Linked DNA regions of Homo sapiens: all the other regions are linked to region 2. The links are contacts of gene promoters, found by promoter capture Hi-C in human tissues and cell types (Jung and others, 2019). All regions are on one chromosome and are shown on one strand. The core of a region is centred on a gene start or on the middle of the fragment in contact, and the rest is flanking DNA. Distances in the headings are between cores, read along the strand shown. Region 1 has its middle 19 kb from the start of SLC44A2. Region 2 holds the start of S1PR2 (sphingosine-1-phosphate receptor 2). Region 3 holds the start of ILF3 (interleukin enhancer binding factor 3).

The links. Contacts are between HindIII fragments. The study calls those that stand out against the background at their distance.
Region 1: a contact is called between a fragment that was not itself captured here and the fragment with the promoter of S1PR2 in region 2, in 1 of the 25 tissues and cell types used here (liver).
Region 3: a contact is called between the fragment with the promoter of ILF3 here and the fragment with the promoter of S1PR2 in region 2, in 1 of the 25 tissues and cell types used here (dorsolateral prefrontal cortex).

What each region holds. Positions count from the first base shown.
Region 1 is chr19:10,605,079-10,608,593 of GRCh38, forward strand. It overlaps a transcript of SLC44A2 not described here. Among named protein-coding and RNA genes, the nearest start is that of SLC44A2, 19 kb to the right of the region's middle. The HindIII fragment of the contact is 3,280 bases long and covers 626-3,515 here.
Region 2 is chr19:10,229,951-10,233,072 of GRCh38, forward strand. S1PR2 (sphingosine-1-phosphate receptor 2) reads right to left here and starts at 1,381. Exons shown (of 2, transcript NM_004230.4): 1 at 1,254-1,381. It overlaps MIR4322 (microRNA 4322), which reads left to right and starts at 463; the gene lies at 463-535. RefSeq lists enhancers at 6-85, 25-739, 1,886-1,935 and silencers at 266-315, 1,026-1,685. The HindIII fragment of the contact is 35,191 bases long and covers 1-3,122 here.
Region 3 is chr19:10,652,142-10,655,659 of GRCh38, forward strand. It overlaps ILF3 (interleukin enhancer binding factor 3), which reads left to right and starts at 2,205. Exons shown (of 20, transcript NM_017620.3): 1 at 2,205-2,346. ILF3-DT (ILF3 divergent transcript) reads right to left here and starts at 1,731. Exons shown (of 1, transcript NR_024333.1): 1 at 1-1,731. RefSeq lists enhancers at 213-715, 716-1,217, 1,083-1,252, 1,493-1,962 and silencers at 2,053-2,292, 2,373-2,532. The HindIII fragment of the contact is 14,146 bases long and covers 1-3,518 here.

The DNA of each region.
Region 1 (3,515 bases), core at 1,016-3,515, 380 kb after region 2:
GCTTATTTAAAAAACGGACTCTTGCCAGGTATTGTGGCTGACACCTGTAATCCCAGCACTTTAGGAGGCCAAGGCTGGGGGATCACGAGGTCAGGAGATCGAGACAATCCTGGCTACCACAGTGAAACCCCATCTCTACAAAAAATAACAAAAAATGCCAGCCACAGTGGTTCATGCCTGTAATCCCAGCACTTTGGGAGCCAAGGCAGGTGGATCACCTGAGGTCGGGAGTTCGAGACCAGCCTGACCAACATGGTGAATTCCCATCTCTATTAAAAATACAAAATTAGCCAGGCATGGTGGTGCATGCCTGTAATCCCAGCTACTCCAGAGGCTGAGGCAGGAGAATCGCTTGAACTTGGGAGGCAGAGGTTGCGGTGAGCCGAGTTTGTGCCACTGCACTCCAGCCTGGGCAAAAAGAGTGAAATTCAGTCTCGAAATAAATAAATAAATAAATAATAAAAATACAAAAAATTAGTGTACCTATAGTCCCAGCTACTCGGGAGGCTGAGGCCGGAGAATCGCTTCAACCTGGGAGGCAGAGGTTACAGTGAGCCAAGGTGGCGCCACTGCACTCCAGCTTAGGTGACAGAGTGAGACTCCGTCTCAAAAAAAAAAAAGGACTCTTGGCCAGGCAAGGATTACAGGTTCACACCTGTAATCCCAGCACTTTGAGAGGCTGAGGTGGGTGGGTCACTTGAGGTCAGGAGATCGAGGCCAGCCTGGCCAACATGGTGAAACCCCGTCTCTATTAAAAATATAAAAATTAGCCAAGCATGGTGGTGCACATCTGTAATCCCAGCTACTTGGGAGGCTGAGACAGGAGAACTGATTGAACCTGGGAGGCAGAGGTTGCAGTGAGCTGAGATGGTGCCACTGCACTCCAACCTGGGCTATGGAGCGAGACTCCATCTCAAAAAACAACAAAAACCAGACTCTGGCTGGGCAGTCGCTGATGCCTATAATTCCAGCACTTTGGGAGTCCCAGGTGGGAGGATCGCTTGAGCCCATGAGTTTGAGACCAGCCTGGGCAATATAGTGAGACCCTGTCTCTACAAAAAAATTTAAAAATTAACTGAGCATGGTGGTGCTCAACTGTATTCCAGCTACTTGGGAGGCTGAGGTGGGAGGATTGCTTGAGCCCAGGAGGCAGAGGTTGCAGTGAGCAAAGATAGCGCCACTGCACTCCAGCCTGGATGACAGAGGAAGACCCTGTCTCAAAATAAAAAGCAGATTCCCTGGTCCCATTTGCTAGAATACAATTCAGCCTGCAGTGAGGCCCTGGCACCTGATTTAAATATATATATATACATGTGGCCGGGTGTGGTGGCTCACGCCTGTAATCCCAGCACTTTGGGAGGCCGAGGCAGGTGGATCACCTGAAGTCAGGAGTTCGAGACCAGCCTGACCAACATGGCGAAACCCTGTCTCTACTAAAAATACAAAAATTGGCTGGGCACAGTGGCTCACGCCTCTAATATCAGCACTTTGGGAGGCCGAGGCAAGTGGATCACCTGGGGTCTGGAGTTTGAGACCAACCTTACCAATATCGTGAAACCCTGTCTCTACTAAAAATACAAAAATGTTCTTGGAATAGTGACGTGCACCTGTAGTCCCAGCTATGTGGGAGGCTGAGACAGGAGAATTGCTTGAACCCAGGAGGCAGAGGTTGCAGTGAGCTGAGATCGTGCCATTTCTCTCCAGCCTGGGTAACAAGGGCAAAACTCCATCTCAAAAAATAATTATATACATATATATTAAAATATATATATACACATACACATATATATGTATGTATGTATGTATGTATGAAAAGGTAGTTACTTACGGCTATTTTTTTTTTTTTTTTTTGAGACGGAGTCTCGCTCTGTCGCCCAGGCTGGAGTGCAGTGACACGGTCTCGGCTCACTGCAAGCTCCGCCTCCCGGGTTCACGCCATTCTCCTGCCTCAGCCTCCCGAGTAGCTGGGACTACAGGCGCCCGCCACCACGCCTGGCTAATTTTTTTGTATTTTTTAGTAGAGACCGGGTTTCGCCATGTTAGCCAGGATGGTCTCGATCTCCTGACCTTGTGATCAGCCTGCCTTGGCCTCCCAAAGTGCTGAGATTACAGGCGTGAGCCACCTCGCCCGGCCTCTTGGGGCTATTTTCTTTGAAAGGGATAATACATTCACATGCTTTAAATACAAAAGATACAAAAGATGTTACGGCTTTGAGATGAAAGTTTCCCTCTTGCTCTCCCACCCCGGACCATACTTTATTCTTTGTTGTTGTTGTTGTTGTTTATACACAGGGTCTCACTCTGTCACCCAGGCTGGGCTAGAGTGCAGTGGTGCGATCATAGCTCACCGCAGCCTCAAATTCCTGGGCTCAAGTGATCCTCCTGCTTCTGCCTCCTGTGTAGTTGAGACTACGGGTGTGTGCCGTGATACTCAACTAATTTTTTTTTTTTTTTTTTTTTAGAGGCAGGGTCTCACCATGTTGCCCAGGCTGGTCATGAAGTCCTGGGCTAAAGCAATCCTCCTGTACTGGCCTCCCAAAGTGCTAGGATTATAGGCGTGGGCCACCACACCCAGCTTTTTTTTGTTTATTTGTTTTGCCTAATATACATTGGAGAGGATCTCTTGTCAACACCTCCAAAGCTTCCTCAATCATTTATTATTATTATTATTATTTTTTTTTTTTTGAGACGGAGTCTCACTCTGTCGCTCAGGCTGGAGTGCAGTGGCGTGATCTCGGCTCACTGCAAGCACCGCCTCCCGGGTTCATGCCATTCTCCTGCCTCAGCCTCCCGAGTAGCTGGGACTACAGGCGCCCGCCACTGTGCCTGCCACTGCCCCCGGCTAATTTTTTGTATTTTTAGTAGAGACGGGATTTCACCGTGGTCTCGATCTCCTGACCTCGTGATCCGCCCCCGCCTCGGCCTCCCAAAGTGCTGGGATTACAGGTGTGAGCCACTGCGCCCAGCCACCCCGTTTCTACTAAAAATAAAAAAATTAGCTGGGCATGGTGGCATGCACCTGTAGTCTCAGATACTTGGGAGGCTGAGGCAGGAGAATCGCTTGAACCCAGGAGGTGGAGGTTGTAGTGAGCCGAGATCGCGCCACTGCACTCCAGCCTGGGCAACAGAGCGAGACTCCGTCTCAAAGAAAAAAAAAAAAAAAGGAGAGACAGGGTCTTGCTATGTTGCCTTGGCTAGCCTAGAACTCCTGAGTTGAAGGGATCCTCCCGCCTCAGCCTCCCGAGTAGCTGGGACTGATCACAGGTGTGTGCCATGGCGCCCAGCACAATCTTTTTTCACGGTAGCATAGAATAGTACATTTGTGGATGGGCTGTCTTTTATTTAGCCAATCAAAGGGAATATTTATTTTAAACTTTTTTTCGAAGTTGGAAATACATACATAAAAGGGCATAGATCCTAAATATATGAGGCTGAAGGAGCTTTCACAAGGTGAACACCTTATCTGGCCAGCAACCAGATGAGGAAAAAAGAACATTTCCAGGGCCCTGTCATGT
Region 2 (3,122 bases), core at 131-2,630:
ACACTCAGAAAACGTGTGGAATGGGCAAATGAATGAATGAATGAATGAACCAATGAACAAAGGAGACCCTAGTGGGTTCCCAAGGGTGGAAACTCCTAAGCTCAGCCCAGACCCAAACAGCAACAAAGGAGCCTGGAGACACCTCTGGTCCGCGGGCAGCGCCCCCATCGCCCACCATCAACCAGGCAAAGCCCAGCGTGTCTCCATGGAGATGGCAGCAGGACCCGACCCCGTGCTGGCCCGCACTCTCGGCCTCCTTATCTGGTTTAGGAATGCGCGGTATCCACGCTCGCTCGCGCGGGAGCCACGCCTCCTCTCCCCCCCGCCCCCGAGACCGCCACACGCGCGGGGCCCCCACGTCTCCAAGCGGCACTGGAAGGATTCCTCTCCGTCCCGCCAGGGGTCCCGCCTCGAGATTCTGGGAAGACTGGGGGTGGGGGACCAGATCGCAGCAGCAGCTGCACCGCGAGTTCCGCGCCTGGCCGTGTCGCCCCACGAGGGGGACTGTGGGCTCAGCGCGTGGGGCCCGGAGCATCTGACAAGGACAGAGACAGAGGAGGGGGTGGAAATCCCCGGGTGAGTCAACCCGTGCCTGAGAAGGGGGCGAGTTCCGACGCTCCGCCCGGCTCGGGGCCACGCGAGGTCCGCGCCACGCGCGCCTTCACCCACGACCCATCCCTGAGCCGGAGTTGAAAGAGGAGGCGTCTGAGCCACGCAGTCACTTTCTCTTTCCTTACAAAACAAAGCCACGCCCCCCGCCGGGGGACCGGAGGAGGCAAACAACTTGGGGAAACCGAGGCAGAAAGCCCGACGTCCGACCGCCCTCCCCGTGGGTGCCGCCCCTTGGCTTGGAGGCTCCACGGCGCGCACATCCTTTTGCCCTCGCTCAGCCGGAGTCAGCCAGGAGGGGTGTTGCCCCCCCCCAAACACACTCCCCAAGACCCCGGTCCCCGAGCACGGCGTCCTGCCTCCCAAAGACTCCAGTCGAAAGCGCTCGGATTCAGCCTTCTCCCCGGCGCCAACTTCCTGCCGCTGAGAAAGGCGGGGAGCACAGTCTGCGGGTTCGCGGCCGAGGCAGTGGGGGCCGCCCGGATTCTTGGAGAGGGCGCACTGTGACCACCCGCTCCGTGCAGCAGGAACCCAGGCGGCGCGTGCGCGCCCCAGCCCCCCGATTGGGGCCCCTCAGCTCGGATCCCGAGACCTCAGGGGACCAGGCCCGCCTTTTCTGCCTCCTTGTCGCCACGCGCGCTCACCTGGCTAGGCCGGCCCGGCTCCCGGCCCTGGCCGGAGGGGCCTTGGCGTCTGCGTCCCCAGGGCGGCCGCGGCTGGGGCTGGGGTTGCCAGCCGGGCTCGGCTAAGTCCCGGGGCTGGGACGAGGGACAGAGGGGGGGGCGGAGAGCCGCCGCCTCTGCCCCCCGCTCGCCCCGCCCTCCTCTCCTCCCCTTTCCGGCGGCGGCTGCAATGAATTCCAGATGTGACCGGCCGGCTGGCCGGGGCGCACGCGGGGGCCGACAGGAGCTGCACGGAGGGCCCTTTGTCCGCCCCCCCCACCCGATCTCTCACTCTGCCCCTCCCAGCCCCCACCCGTGAGAACCGGCCGGCGCGAAACGTCACGCAGCCTGGTGACGTCACAGTACTCCTGGCCAGGTGGCCTCAACCTGAAACAACTGTCTTCAACCCCAGGTTACCTCTGGGCTTACCCCTGGGACCCTGGACTTGGAAGAAAACACGAGGTCACATTTATTGACTCAACAAAGAGCCTTGGAAGTACCTACTAGGTGTCAACGCAGCAAATAGGCATTAAGTGCCTACTGTGTGTCCACCCAACAAATAAATTCCTACTAAGTGCGATGTCCTGTCCCAAAGACAAAATTGATCTCTTTTTTTTTTTCTTTTTTTGAGACATGGTCTTGCTCTGTCATCCAGGCCAGAGTGTGGTGGCTCAATCATAGCTCACGGGAGCCTCAGCCTCCTGCCTCAGCCTCCAGAGTAGCTGGGACTACAGGTGCGCCATCATGCCTGGCTAATTTTTTGCAGTTTTTTGTAGAGATGGGGTCTCGCTGTGTTGCCCAGGCTGGTCTTGAACTGCTGCATTCAAGCAATCCTACTGCCTCAGCCTCCCAAAGTGCTGGAATGACAGGCGTGAGCCACTGTGCCTGACCAGTCTCTCCCTTGATAGGACCTCCAGAATTCAGGTGCTGCCCTGTTTCCCTTGGGGGACTGGGGACACTCCACACTCTTTCCTGCCTCTGTAGATCACTGTCCCCTCTGGCGGGGCCCAGTTTGTGCCTGCCTTCCAGCGTCGGGCCCAGTCTTCTATCCAGATTTCCAATTTTCACTAATTCCTGGGCATTTCTGTGTGCCTGCCTGCGGAAATGATGGACACTACACCTTCATCGAATGATGTGTGTGTGTGTGTGTGTGTGTGTGTGTGTGTGTGTGTGTGTAACCAGCAGTTCGACAACAGGATAGGAAAGCCCCTCATTCCAGCAACAAAATTTTTTTGTTTGAGACAGAGTCTTCCTTTATCTCCCAGGCTGGGGTGCAGTGGTGCCATCTCAGCTCACTGCAACCTCTGCCTCCCAGGTTCAAGCTATTCCTGTGCCTCAGCTTCACAAGTAGCTGGAAATACAGGCGCGTGCCACCACGCCTGGCTGATTTTTTTGTATTTTTAGTAAAGACAGGGTTTCACCATGTTGGCCAGGCTGGTCTCGAACTCGTGACCTCAAGTGATCCGCCTGCCTCGGCCTCCCCAAGTGCTGGGATTACAAATGTAAACCACAGCACCTGGCAACAAATATTTTTTATGCACCTACTGGGCACAGCAGTGAACAACAACAACAGCAACAAAAAGGAAAAACTCCTTGACCAGATGGATTTTTTTTTTTTTTTGAGACAGAGTCTAGCTCTGTCGCCAGGCTGGAATGTAGTGGCACTATCTCGGCTCACTGCAACCTCTGCCTCCCGGGTTCAAGCGATTCTTCTGCCTCAGCCTCCTGAGTAGCTGGGATTACAGGCATGCGCCACCATGCCCAGCTAATTTTTGTAGTTTTAGTAGAGATGGAGGTTTCACCATGTTGGCCAGGATGGTTTCGATCTCCTGACCTCATGATCTGCCCGCC
Region 3 (3,518 bases), core at 955-3,454, 420 kb after region 2:
TATTTAATGGTTCAGAAAAGGAGAGACAGTAAAGGAATTTTTCTTTTCAACTTTGCTCCGGAGGAGGCTGTCTGGAGCCCATTCCTTTGGCCTCGACTTTTCAGTGTTATAACTGTCCTTGAAGTAAGCTGGCTAAGCAGAGGAAAACTTGTTCTTGTTTTCTTTTTAACCCTTACCCCCTGCCACATAATCACATCTTTACACTTCTTTTTTTTTTTTTTTTTTTTTTTTAAGATGGGAAGTCGGAGTCTCGCTCTGTCGCCCAGGCTGGAGTGCAGTGGTGCCATCTCGGCTCATTGTAACCTCTGCCTCCCAGGTTCAAGTGATTCAAGCCATTCTTGTGCCTCTGCCTCCTGAGTAGCTGGGATTATAGGCGCACACCACCACACCTGGCGAATTTTTTTTTTTTTTTTTTTTTGAGGCTGAGTCTCACTCTATCGCCCAGGCTGGAGTGCAATGGAGCAATCTCGGCTCACTGCAACCTCCGCCTCCTGGGTTCAAGCGATCCTCCTGTCTCAGCTTCCTGATTAGCTGGGATTACAGGCGCCCTCCACCACACCCAGTTAATTTTTCTATTTTTAGTGGAGACGGTGTTTCACCATGTTGGCCAGGCTGGTCTCAAACTCCTGACCTCAAGTGATCCGCCCACCTCAGCTTCCCAAAGTGCTGGGATTACAAGCGTGAGCCACCACGCCCAGCCAGGAAACCCATTTTCAACACCTCCTTGCTCTTTTTTTTTTCTGAGACAGAGTCTCGCTCTGTCGCCCAGACTGGAGTGCAGTGGCGCAATCTCGGCTCACTGCAACCTCCGCCTGCCAGGTCAAACAATTCTCCTGCCTCAGCCTCCCAAGTAGGTGGGACTACAGGCATGTGCCACCACACCCGGCTAATTTTCTTTTGTATTTTTAGTAGAGACGGGGTTTCACCATGCTGGCCAGGCTGGTCTCGAACTCCTGACCTCGTGATCCGCCCGCCTCGGCCTCCCAAAGTGCTGGGATTACAAACGTGAGCCACCGCGCCTGGCCTTCCTTGCTCTTCTTGCTCCAAATCCTGGGAACGTCTGAATCAACAGGCGGACATCTGTCAAACCTTCCTAGCAACTACGCCTGCGGATGGCCAACCTGACCCTGGAAGACAGTGGGGTTTAGTTAAGCACAGATTGTACATCGGGGGCCTCATAAGGCGCCTGGAAGCATTCAAGAACACCACGCTTGTAAGGACAAAGCACTCGGTCACGGGCGCCTTTACTTCGGAGCTCCGCGCTGCTGCTGGACGAGCGTCCGTTGAGTCCCAGCCCCAATTTTTCCAGGAAATGGCGGTGAGCCCTCTAGTGAGATATTTTTTGGCCTGGGCCTCAGTTTCTCCATCTGTCAATGGGGGAAGGGGAAGGCGGGCTAGAGGACCCCGACCAGGTCGGCTGCAGCCTTCGGAAGCTACGGCCCAGGGACGCCACACCAAGGCAGGTCTGCGGGACGAAAGAACCCAAGAACCCGGGCGCGCATTGGCGCCGGTCCCGGGCTCAAGGGGCAGCAACGAGGAGACGCTGGACCTGGCCGTTCCTCGCACACATCTCTAACCTTCTGTGCCTCTCAAGGGAGATGGGGTGAGCATAGCCACCTCCACTGGAGCCCGAAAATCCCCGGCCGAGATACCGCCACTAAAAAGGTACACATGCGTCAAAGCCTCTCGGAGCCATTTCCGCTAACGTACTCAGGGCGACGGGCGTAAGATGGCGGCCGCGCAGGCGCAAAATGTCGCAGCCGTAGGGAGGCTCCGCCTCTGACGCTTGCCTTGCATCACGTGGTAATGGCCGCTCAAAAAACGCCTTAGCGAAAACCAGAGCGTGCCCTCGTCACGTGATGGAGGACTCCCAGTACGGCAAAGGGAAGGCGCCAAAAGTTGTCAGATGGCGAAGGAAACCGCGAAATTCGCCATTGTCACATGATGGAGCAACCTATCGAAAGCGGAGGGAAAGGTGCCGAAGTCACGTGACTACGCACGCAAACACTCCCGCTTGCACCACGTGCAACTCACGCCCACCCCCTCAGCCCCCCCCTTATCTCTTTTCGCCCCTCCCTCCCATTTGGGTTGGGCCTGCGTCGAGGCGCAACGCGGCGTCAAAGGGGGCGGGGCTTCAGCCGGTCACGTGTTCCCGCACCTCCCCGGCGCGCGCCTGCCCGCCCGCCCGCTCGCCCCCGGTCCGGACTCCTCCTCCTCCTCTTCTCGCCATTGCAGTTGGACCCAGCAGCCCGGCGCGCACCGCGTGGCTTTTGGGGGCAGACCCCGGCGGGCTGTGGCAGGAGGGCGGCGGCGGCGGCTGCGGTCGAAGAAGGGGACGCCGACAAGGTAAGCGTCAATGTGGCGGCGGCCGGGCCCGCTCCCGCCTCTGCCCCTCCCCCCGCCCGCCCTCAGTGAGATCCCCACTGAGGGTTCGCGGTGACAAGGCTGGAGGGATCCCACGCTCGCCGCCTCCGCCCGGTTCCCTCATCCCGGCGCCTGGCCCGTTCCTCCCTTGCCGGCCTCGCTCCCGCGCTCGGCCGTTAACTCTCTTCCATTGTGCGGAGGAAACAAAATGGCGGCTGCGGCGGCGGCGAGGACTCGGTGCGCGCGCAGCCGCTCCCCCCCGCACGCGGCCCCTCGGCCGGCGGCGGCGCCACGCGCGGGGGGGTGCGCGCGCACCGGGCCCCCGGCTGCCGCCTCCCCGCGGCTGGGCTTTTGTCTGTTGCGGGGGTCCTGGGGACGCGCGCACGTGCTTGGAGCACACACCCCCTCGGGTCCCGAGTTCCGCGGCGGGGCGACCCCCCTTCCTCACTCCTTCCCTACCCCCTCCTCCTCTTTGTCCCGGTCCCGCCCCCGATTCCAGGAGAGTCCCAGGTTCCCGAGGCGGGAAAAGTCGCCTCCTTTGTCCTCACAGGTCGCGGAGAGGCGGACCCCCTCCTTGGAAGCCCCTTCCCACGCGGATTGCTGAGGAAGCCTTTGTGGGTTCGTCGGGTTTCCAAATCTCTGGTCAGCCAGGCCTCTCTCAGATCAGGGTCAAAACTTGAGAGGGTTTCAGCTTTTTCTTTAGTTAGTTTGTTTTCATTGTTGAATGTTTTTCCAGATTGTTAGTATTTGCCTTCTCTAGACCGGCAATCTACTTGGGTGCAAGCCTGGGCCCCGAAACGTGGATGCTTAAAACCCATTTCTACCTTTATTTTCTCAAGTAGTTGAACGATTGAGATTCTCGAGGTTACTCATGAGGTTCTGCCCCAGTTAATTCACCGCCTGGATGAATTATTTGGGGTGTACGGCGGTCTGCATGCTCCTCCCCCAGTTCAGTGGCCAAATTTGAGGAGAATGAGGGATCTCTTCTCCACATTTCCAACATTGTTTGCCAGTTGCTGCTTAGGTGACATGGATCAGCAACGAAGCGTCGGTTTCAGTGGTTTCTTTTTCTGGACTCCGGTAATTCACTGCTGCTGAATCTTTTTCAAGATTTTGCTCTCTTTAAAATGAGTGGTGTGATGGCATATTTGTGG